2 separate regions of the Homo sapiens genome follow, and region 1 is linked to region 2. The links are contacts of gene promoters, found by promoter capture Hi-C in human tissues and cell types (Jung and others, 2019). All regions are on one chromosome and are shown on one strand. Each heading gives the region's core, a stretch centred on a gene start or on the middle of the fragment in contact. The rest is flanking DNA. Distances are from core to core; before and after follow the strand shown.

Region 1 (4,173 bases), core at 300-2,799, 56 kb before region 2:
GAAATAGTGTAAAAGGAAGAAAAAGAGAAAAAGAGAGAGAGACCATAAGAGAAGGGAGACAATGAAACAAAAAGTGCGAGTGAGCAGGTGAGGAGAAAGATTGAAAACTATGAGAAACAACAACTAAGAGACAAAGGAGAAGGGAGACTGCCTGGGTGCCGGAGCACCCACACTGTCCTCTTGCCCCCATCACTTGGGTTAAAACCATTGGAAATTCCACTATTGCAAATTTTGTATTAATCCTTGTATGTCTGCCCTCTCTATTGTTAGTCTACAGGTGTATCCAGCAGTTCCAGAAAGACAGTGACCAGCAAAAACAGGCCATGGTGACAATGACAGTTTTGTCAAAAAGAAAAGGGGGATATGTAGGGAAAAGAAAGAGAGATCAGACTGTTACCGTGTCTATGTAGAAAGGGAAGACATAAGAGACTACATTTTGAAAAAGACCTGTACTTTAAATAATTGCTTTTCTGAGATGTTGTTAATTTTTAGCTTTGCCCCAGCCACTTTGACCCAACCACTTTGACCCAACCTGGAGCTCACAAGAACATGTGTTGTATGAAATCAAGGTTTAAGGGATCTAGGACTGTGTAGGACGTGCCTTGTTAACAAAATGTTTACAAGCAGTATACTTGGTAAAAGTCATCGCCATTCTCTAGTCTCAATAAACCAGGGGCACAGTGCACTGCAGAAAGCCGCAGGGACCTCTGCCCTTGAAAGCAGGGTATTGTCCAAGGTTTCTCCCCATGTGATAGTCTGAAATATGGCCTCCTGGGATGAGAAAGACCTGACTGTCCCCCAGCCCGACACCCATAAAGGGTCTGTGCTGCGGTGGGTTAGTAAAAAAGGAAGGCCTCTTGCAGTTGAGATAGAGGAAGGCCACTGTCTCCTGCCTGCTCCTGGGAACTAAAAGTCTCGGTATAAATCCCGATTGTACATTTGTTCAGTTCTGAGATGAGAGAAAAACCGCCCTATGGTGGGAGGCGAGACATGTTTGCAGCAATGCTGCCTCGTTATTCTTTACTCCACCGAGATGTTTGGGTGGAGAGAAACATAAATCTGGCTTACGTGCATGTCCAGTCATAGTACCTTCCCTTGAACTGAATTATTAGATTCTATTGCTCACGTTTGTTGCTGACCTTCTCCTTATTATCACCCTGCCCTCCTACTACATTCCTTTTTACTGAAATAATGACGATAATAATCAATAAAAACTGAGGGAACTCAGAGACCGGTGCCGGTGCAAGTCCTTGGTATGCTGAGCGCCGGTCCCCTGGGCTCACTGTTGTTTCTCTATACTTTGTCTCTGTGTCTTATTTCTCTTTCTCAGTCTCTCGTCCCACCTGACTAGAAATACCCACAGGTGTGGAGGGGCAAGCCACCCCTTCAAACAGTAGCAACCTGCTTGGGTCCCCTTCCACACTGTGGAAGCTTTGTTCTTTCGCTCTTTGCAATAAATCTTGCTGCCCCTCACTCTTTGGGTCCACACGGCCTTTATGAGCTGTAACACTCATCGTGAAGGTCTGCAGCTTCACTCCTGAGGCCAGTGAGGCCACGAACCCAGTGGGAGGAATGAACAACTCCGGATGGGAGGAACGAACAACTCCAGACATGCCGCCTTAAGAGCTGTAACACTCACTGTGAAGGTCCGCAGCTTCACTCCTGAAGCCAGCGAGACCACGAACCCACCAGAAGGAAAAAACTCTGAACGTGTCTGAACATCAGAAGGAACAAACTCCGGACACGCTGCCTTTAAGGACTGTAACACTCACTGCGAGGGTCCGTGGCTTCATTCTTGAAGTCAGTGAGACCAAGAACCCACCAATTCCAGACACACCTTCATTTTGAGCCTATGTGTGTCTTTGCACGTGAGATTGGGTCTCCTGAATACAGCACACCATATGGGTCTTGATTCTTTATCCAATTTGCCAGTCAGTGTCTTTTAATTGGGGCATTTATCCCATTTACATTGAAGGTTAGTATTGTTATATGTGAATTTGATCCTGTCATGACGTTAGCTGGTTATTTTGCCCATTAATTGATGCAGTTTCTTCATAGCATCAATGGTCTTTACAATTTCGTATGTTTTTGCAGTGGCTGGTACTGGTTGTTCCTTTCCATGTTTAGTGCTTCCTTCAGGAGCTCTTATTGTAAGGCAGGCCTGGTGGTGACAAACTCTCTCAGCATCTGCTTGTCTGTAAAGGATTTTATTTCTCCTTCACTTACGAAGCTTAGTTTGGCTGGATATGAAATTCTAGTTCCAAAAATCTTTTCTTTCAGAATGTTGAATATTGGTCCCGACTCTCTTCTGGTTTGTATGGTTTCTGCTGAGAGATCTGCTGTTAGTCTGATGGGCTTCCCTTTGTTGGTAACCCAACCTTTCTCTCTGGCTGCCCTTAACCTTGCTGAATCTGACAATTATGTGTCTTGGGGTTGCTCTTCTCAAGGAGTGTCTTTGTGATGTTCTCTGTATTTCCTGAATTTGAATGTTTCTTTTTTCTTTTCTTGTCTCTAATCTTGTGTTCTCACTTTATTTCATTAATTTTATATTCAATCACTGATATCCTTTCTTCCACTTGATTGAATCAGCTATTGAAGCTTGTGTATCCTTCATGAAGTTCTTGTACTGTGGTTATCAGCTCCATCAGGTCATTTAAGCTCTTCTCTAGATTCTTCATTCTAGTTAGCCATTCGTTTAACATTTTGTCAAGGTTTTTAGCTTCCTTGCAATGGGTTAGAACATGCTCCTTTAGCTGGGTGTAGTTTGTTATTACTGACCTTCTGAAGCTTACGTCTGTCAAGTCATCAAACTTATTCTCCATCCAGTTTTGTTCCCTTGCTGGTGAGGACTTGTATTCCTTTGGAAGAGAAGAGACGTTCTGATTTCTGGAAGTTTCAGCCTTTTTGCTCTGGTTTCTCTCCATCTTTGTGGTTTTATCTACCTTTGGTCTTTGATGTTGGTGACCTATGGATGGGGTTTTAGTGTGGATGTCCTTTCCTGTTCTGATGTTGATGCTGTCCTTTGCTGATGTTGATGCTATTCCTTTCTGTTTGTTAGTTTTCCTTCTAACAGGCCCCTCAGCTGCAGGTCTTTGGGGGTTTGCTGGAAGTCCATTCCAGACCTTATTTTCTTGGGTATCAGTAGAGGAGGCTGCAGAACAGCAAATATTGCTGCCTGATCCTTCTTCTGGAAGCTTTGTTCCACAGGGGCACCCACCTGTATGAGGTGTCTCTCTGCCCCTACTGGGCGGTGTTTTTCAGTCAAGCTACATGGGGGTCAGGGACCCACTTGGGGAGGCAGTCTGTCCGTTATCGGAGCACGAACTCCGTGCTGGGAGAACCACTGCTGTCTTTAGAGATGTCAGGCAAGGACACTGAAGTCTGCAGAAGCTGTCTGCTGCCTTTTGCTCAGATATGCCCTGGCCCCTGAGGTGGAATCTGGAGAGGCAGTAGGCCTTGCTGAGCTGCGGTGGGTTCCGCCCAGTTAGAGCTTCCCTGCAGCTTTGTTTACACTGTGATCATAGAACGCCTACTGAAGCCTTAGCAATGGAGGACTTCCCTCCCCCACGGCCCCGTTAATTGATGCAGTTTCCGCACCCCCCCCACGGCCCTCTCCACCCTACCTGTCAAGCTCCAGCTCCAGCGGAGGATGCTCCAGGGACAGCGATGTCAGGACTGAGATGCAGGGGCTGCCTTAGAGTCTGGATGCATGGGGTAGCGGGGTGTGAGGCACCGGGCCGGGGTGCAGGGCCGGAAGGAACGTGCTGGATCTGGGATGCTACCAGACGGGGCGTCCCAAAGACCGAGGCAGTCCCGTACCTTACAACTCTCAGATGAGCTCCACGGTGGGCTTGGCCACCGTGACCCCTACTGCCGAGGCTGCTGCAGAGGAGCCGCCGCCACCCACACCGCTGTGGAGCAGCCGCACATGCTAGACTCCGCTTCAGTAAAGCCCGGGCGGTGAGTGCCGCCGCAGAGGCGAGCCCGCTCCAGACAGTGGCGGTTGCGTGAGCGCCCCTCCCCCCACCGGGCTTTGGAGCGCGGGCTCCCACGCCGGCCCGGAGAGCTGCCCGACTGAGCATGCGCGTCGCGCTGCCGAGCCTCCTGAGAGCCCGCGGGCTGGCGCCGACCTTTCTTGCCGGCTCCGGCGTGAGAGGCCCGTCGGTGTGAGAG
Region 2 (4,139 bases), core at 237-2,736:
GTTTTCCACCTCCTGGCTCTGTGCCCATTTCCCTGCAGCTCACCGTGGCCACCAGCCGCTCCCGGTCCTCCGCCTTCCCCACATGGCACACGGTGCCCGTCACGCTCAGCCCCTCCCCCTGCAGCGTGGCCACCGCCTGGTCCACATTCTGCTGCTTCCGGCTGCTGACGACCACATGGGCCCCGTCCTGGGCCAAACGCCGGGCGATGGCGAAGCCGATCCTGTGAGCAGAAAGAGACAAAGACTGCTAAGGCCTGTGCAGGGGAAGAGGTCGACAGTATGAGCTCTGAAGTTAAGACTGCCCGGGTTTGAATTCTGGCTCTTTCTCTATATAACCCCTACGTGTGCCTACTATGTGTAAAACAGGCTTAATGGCATGGCCATTTTTGGCATTCCTTTACTTGTTTTTATTATGACCTGGACCACAGCCTCAGTTCCCAAGAACTGACATCACTTTCTACAGTTCCCACCATGGGTGACAGGCTTCATCCCCTCTTGGGACTGAGAGGTGAGAAATGAGCTGGGTTTGCAGCAGCAGCCACTTCCGTGATTTGAGGGTCTCACTCAGAACAGCCCTGCCCCCAGGTTTCTTTCTTACTCGTCTACATCATTCTCAAAATTCTATCCTTAGTTATTTTTTGGGGTGCATGTGAAAAGATGGTCTCCGGTCAAAAATGTAAATATTGCCTTGGGAGGAAGAGTTACACATTTTGCATTTGTCAGCTATTAGCATTTTACCTACATTTGTATTTTAGTTTTGTGAAGAGCTGGCATCTAGCAAAGTCCTGTAGAAATGAGGACCAGGATAGACAAGAATGGTGGGTGAGAAACAGGCTGGGCAAGGTCGGCCCAGATGTACCGACCTAAACAAAAATCTCGACATATGGCTCTGGTGTCCCATCTAGGTAAGGGGGAGGGGTTCCGGGGGACTTTCCGGTGCCCAAATAGAATGTCTGGTACATTTTCAAAGTGCTGGAGGCCGTGGGATAGTATTTTGAAATCCAGATTTCCTTGGATTTCCAGTTTCTGGTCTTCCCAGACGCTAGGTGGCGCTGGTTGACTGGGGCAGCCCAGAACACTGGGGAGACTAGATCGATAGGGCTGCACAGAGGTGGCACAGTTGTGCCAGAGGTAGCAGGGACAGGAGGGCTGGCAAGGGAGGGTCCAGGGCTAGGGGATTCGGAGTGGCTTCAGGCGGACCACGTGGCTACCTTTTTTCCAGGGCCAGACTTTGGCAGCGTGTAAGGTCTGAGGACAGGGGCACCGGAGGCCGAGGATGAGAGGCCAGTGCCTGTTTCCAGGCAGCCAGGGCCTCAGAAACTCCGGCCGGAGCACTCACCCGTCGGTGGAGGCCGTTACCAGGGCCACCTTATTTGCGAGCGGGTCCCGGCGGGTCATCCCGGAGCTGGCCATCCGCACCGAATTCCAAGCCCGGGCACAGAGGCCTAGCAGCCCCGCCTTGTGCATGGATCAGACCAGCAAGTATGGGTTCCACTCTTCCCAGGGGCGGTGACAGAGTAGGGCGAGGGGCAGGACGAAGGGCGGGCCGATTCCCTGCCCGCCCTGCTCCCCGCCCCGGTACCGCTGTGAGCGGTCTGTGGCCCTGGGCACCTCCATCCGCCGCGGCGCCCCTCCACCATCTACCTTCCGCCTGACTGGGGCTTGCCTTTCCGGGCTGGCGGGTGAGCTCTCCGTTCAAGTTGCCTGTAGGGCTCGCCCCTCCCCTGGCCCTTGCAGGAACCCGCAGGCTTTGGCTGCTGCCTTTCTGCATCTGCTTGCCCACCTTTTCTTCTCTGGGAAGTGGGGGTTTTGAGTTGGTTGCTTTTGCTTCTTCAGAATTCCTTCTCCAAGAAAGTCTGGGTCTATGTGTGTGACAGCCCACAGGAGGGCAAATGTTTTGAGACTGCCCATGGAGGTGAGGCCTGTGGTCGCCATGGAGTCCACCAGGTGAGGCTGGAAGAGCCTGGGAGAGAGACGTGATAGGGAGTAGCTGCGCCAGGCCTGGCACTGCCCTTCACTCTGCCCAAGGTCTCTTCCATCTTCACGGGCCCTGGAGGGCAGACTATGGTCATTGGCCAAACAGCATTCTCATGTCCGTTGACAAAGGGACTTCCTCCTTTACAGGGGCTAAGTGGTAGCGAGGAGGCTGGACAGTCCCTCAAGCAGTGGTGGAAATGCAAAGAACTCGGGGCACTCAAGTTCTCCCTAACCACTCTGTCCCCAGGTCTTAGCCGCCATCTTAGTTCAATAAATATTTGTTGAATGCAAAATCTCTTTATGAACTGTAAGCTACTAAGCACATAGTAGTTACTGCCACCATGTAGTGATTATTATTGGTGCCCTGGGCCAGACTCTTCATCTGTAAATTACTGAGGGTATGGATGATGAATAAAGTCCTTGCCAGCTATAAATTCTGTGTCCAAGACTTCAGTCTGCACTTCTGCCAAGTGGGCTGAAATGATCTCCCTCCTGGGTTTCCGGGAGAATGAAGAAATCTGGATGGCTTATGGTACAGTGTAGAAAGGCCCCAACAGACCCAAATGCAAGCATCTGAATTGGTTTAACCCACTGGCCTCCAAAGCCAGACTGAGAAGCAGTGCTGGTTCATGGCAGCGTTTTCACTAGTTCAAGGCAAAATGAGAAAAGGAAACAATTACAGTGAGTTTCATAAAGCTAAGCTTATTTAACAGTCCTTTATTGTGGAGTATACGTTTGCTTCTTTTTGTGTGTGTGTGTGTGTGTTAGTGTTTTCTTTTAGAAAAGATGATGAAAGCAGATGGGTAGGTTTAGAGATGTGTTATTGGTGAAATCACCAGTTTGGCAGCCTTATGCCAGTCCCTACAATTAAAGGGGAAAGAATCCTGGTTTGTGAAATCCAGTTCTAGGCATGACTTTTGAATAGAATTCATGTTTGCTCAAGATTCATTTAGTATATGTGCAGGTAAGCTGAGCAGCTGAAAAAGGGTTTCAACATTCAAAAGGGGGTGTATGGTGAGCAAGTAATAGAACGGCCTGCACTGGAATTCTAGTGTTTTCCTCAGCCAAGAAGTTACAGCTGCAATACTCTGCTTTGCTACTCAGCAGATCCCGATGAGACAGGAGAGCTTCAGTATAATTTTCCCCATGTCCAGGGAAGGCTGACTCTGACTGGTGCTCCTCAGTCTGAGCCTCATGAATTATTGACAGAGGCTGGAAGCGCCACACTGCTTGTCCTCTTGCACTGTTTGGAGCTAACGCACTGTGGGAACCCTTCCCAGGGCTCTCCATCTGTGTGTGCGGCTGGGGGAGGGTACACAGGAGGACGGCTGCGGGGGTTCTCAGGGCTTGGTTCAAAGGGACAGGCCTGCAGGGGGCGTTTGATCTCTCTTTCCCTTCTCTTCAGAGGTAGACAGGTGGACTCAGGGGCTGAGGTTGGCAGGAAGGTGAGGAAGACTACACTTCAAAGAGCAAAGGATTCTGGGAAGAGAGAATTGTGGCTTGGGTGCTTGGTGAACATTACATGGCCCTTCCTTGTGTGGGCAGGGTTGCTATTTGGCCTCTAGCACTATTTCTTTTGTGGAGAGCACAGGGGACATTAGGGAGGGGGCCTGTGAGCAGAAAAGGATGGAAGGAAGTCAAGAAGTATGGGACTCTCTAGCACTACTCCTCATCAAGCTCGCTTATTGGAGATAAGAACAGGAAATCTTGGGCTGGGCATGGTGGCTCACACCTGTAATCCTCTTTACTAACAATACGAAAATTAGCTGGGCGTGGTCAGAAGTTCGAGATCAGCCTGGCCAACATGGTGAAACCTCATCTCTACTAAAAATACAAAAACCAGCCGGGCCTGGTGGCATGTGCCTGTAATCCCAGCTACTCAGGAGGCTGTGGCAGGAGAATTGCTTGAACGTGGGAGGCAGAGGTTGCAGTGAGCCAAAATCATGCCATTGCACTCCAGCCTGGGCAGCAGAATGAAAGACTCCATCTAAATAAATAAATAAATAAATAAATAAATAAATAAATAAATAACGGGAAATCTTTCAGGGAAATACATGCATATGTGGGAGTATCTCTTTGAAATGGGAACTGTAACAGGCAATGGGATTGTTCTTACATGGAGGTGGTAACATCTGCCTATCTTGAGGGACAAATGCCTTCAT

Evidence for each region. Contacts are between HindIII fragments. The study calls those that stand out against the background at their distance.
Region 1: a fragment that was not itself captured here is called in contact with the fragment with the promoter of DHRS4 in region 2 in 7 of the 25 tissues and cell types used here (H1 embryonic stem cells, IMR-90 fibroblasts, adrenal gland and 4 more).

The regions. Positions count from the first base shown.
Region 1 is chr14:24,006,912-24,011,084 of GRCh38, reverse strand. It overlaps the pseudogene DHRS4L1. Among named protein-coding and RNA genes, the nearest start is that of DHRS4L2, 20 kb to the right of the region's middle. The HindIII fragment of the contact is 5,422 bases long and covers 1-4,173 here.
Region 2 is chr14:23,951,117-23,955,255 of GRCh38, reverse strand. It overlaps DHRS4 (dehydrogenase/reductase 4), which reads right to left and starts at 1,486. Exons shown (of 8, transcript NM_021004.4): 1 at 1,340-1,486; 2 at 44-221. The coding sequence starts at 1,467. It overlaps DHRS4-AS1 (DHRS4 antisense RNA 1), which reads left to right and starts at 144. Exons shown (of 2, transcript NR_023922.2): 1 at 144-508. RefSeq lists enhancers at 845-974, 1,025-1,154, 1,765-1,964. The HindIII fragment of the contact is 7,990 bases long and covers 1-4,139 here.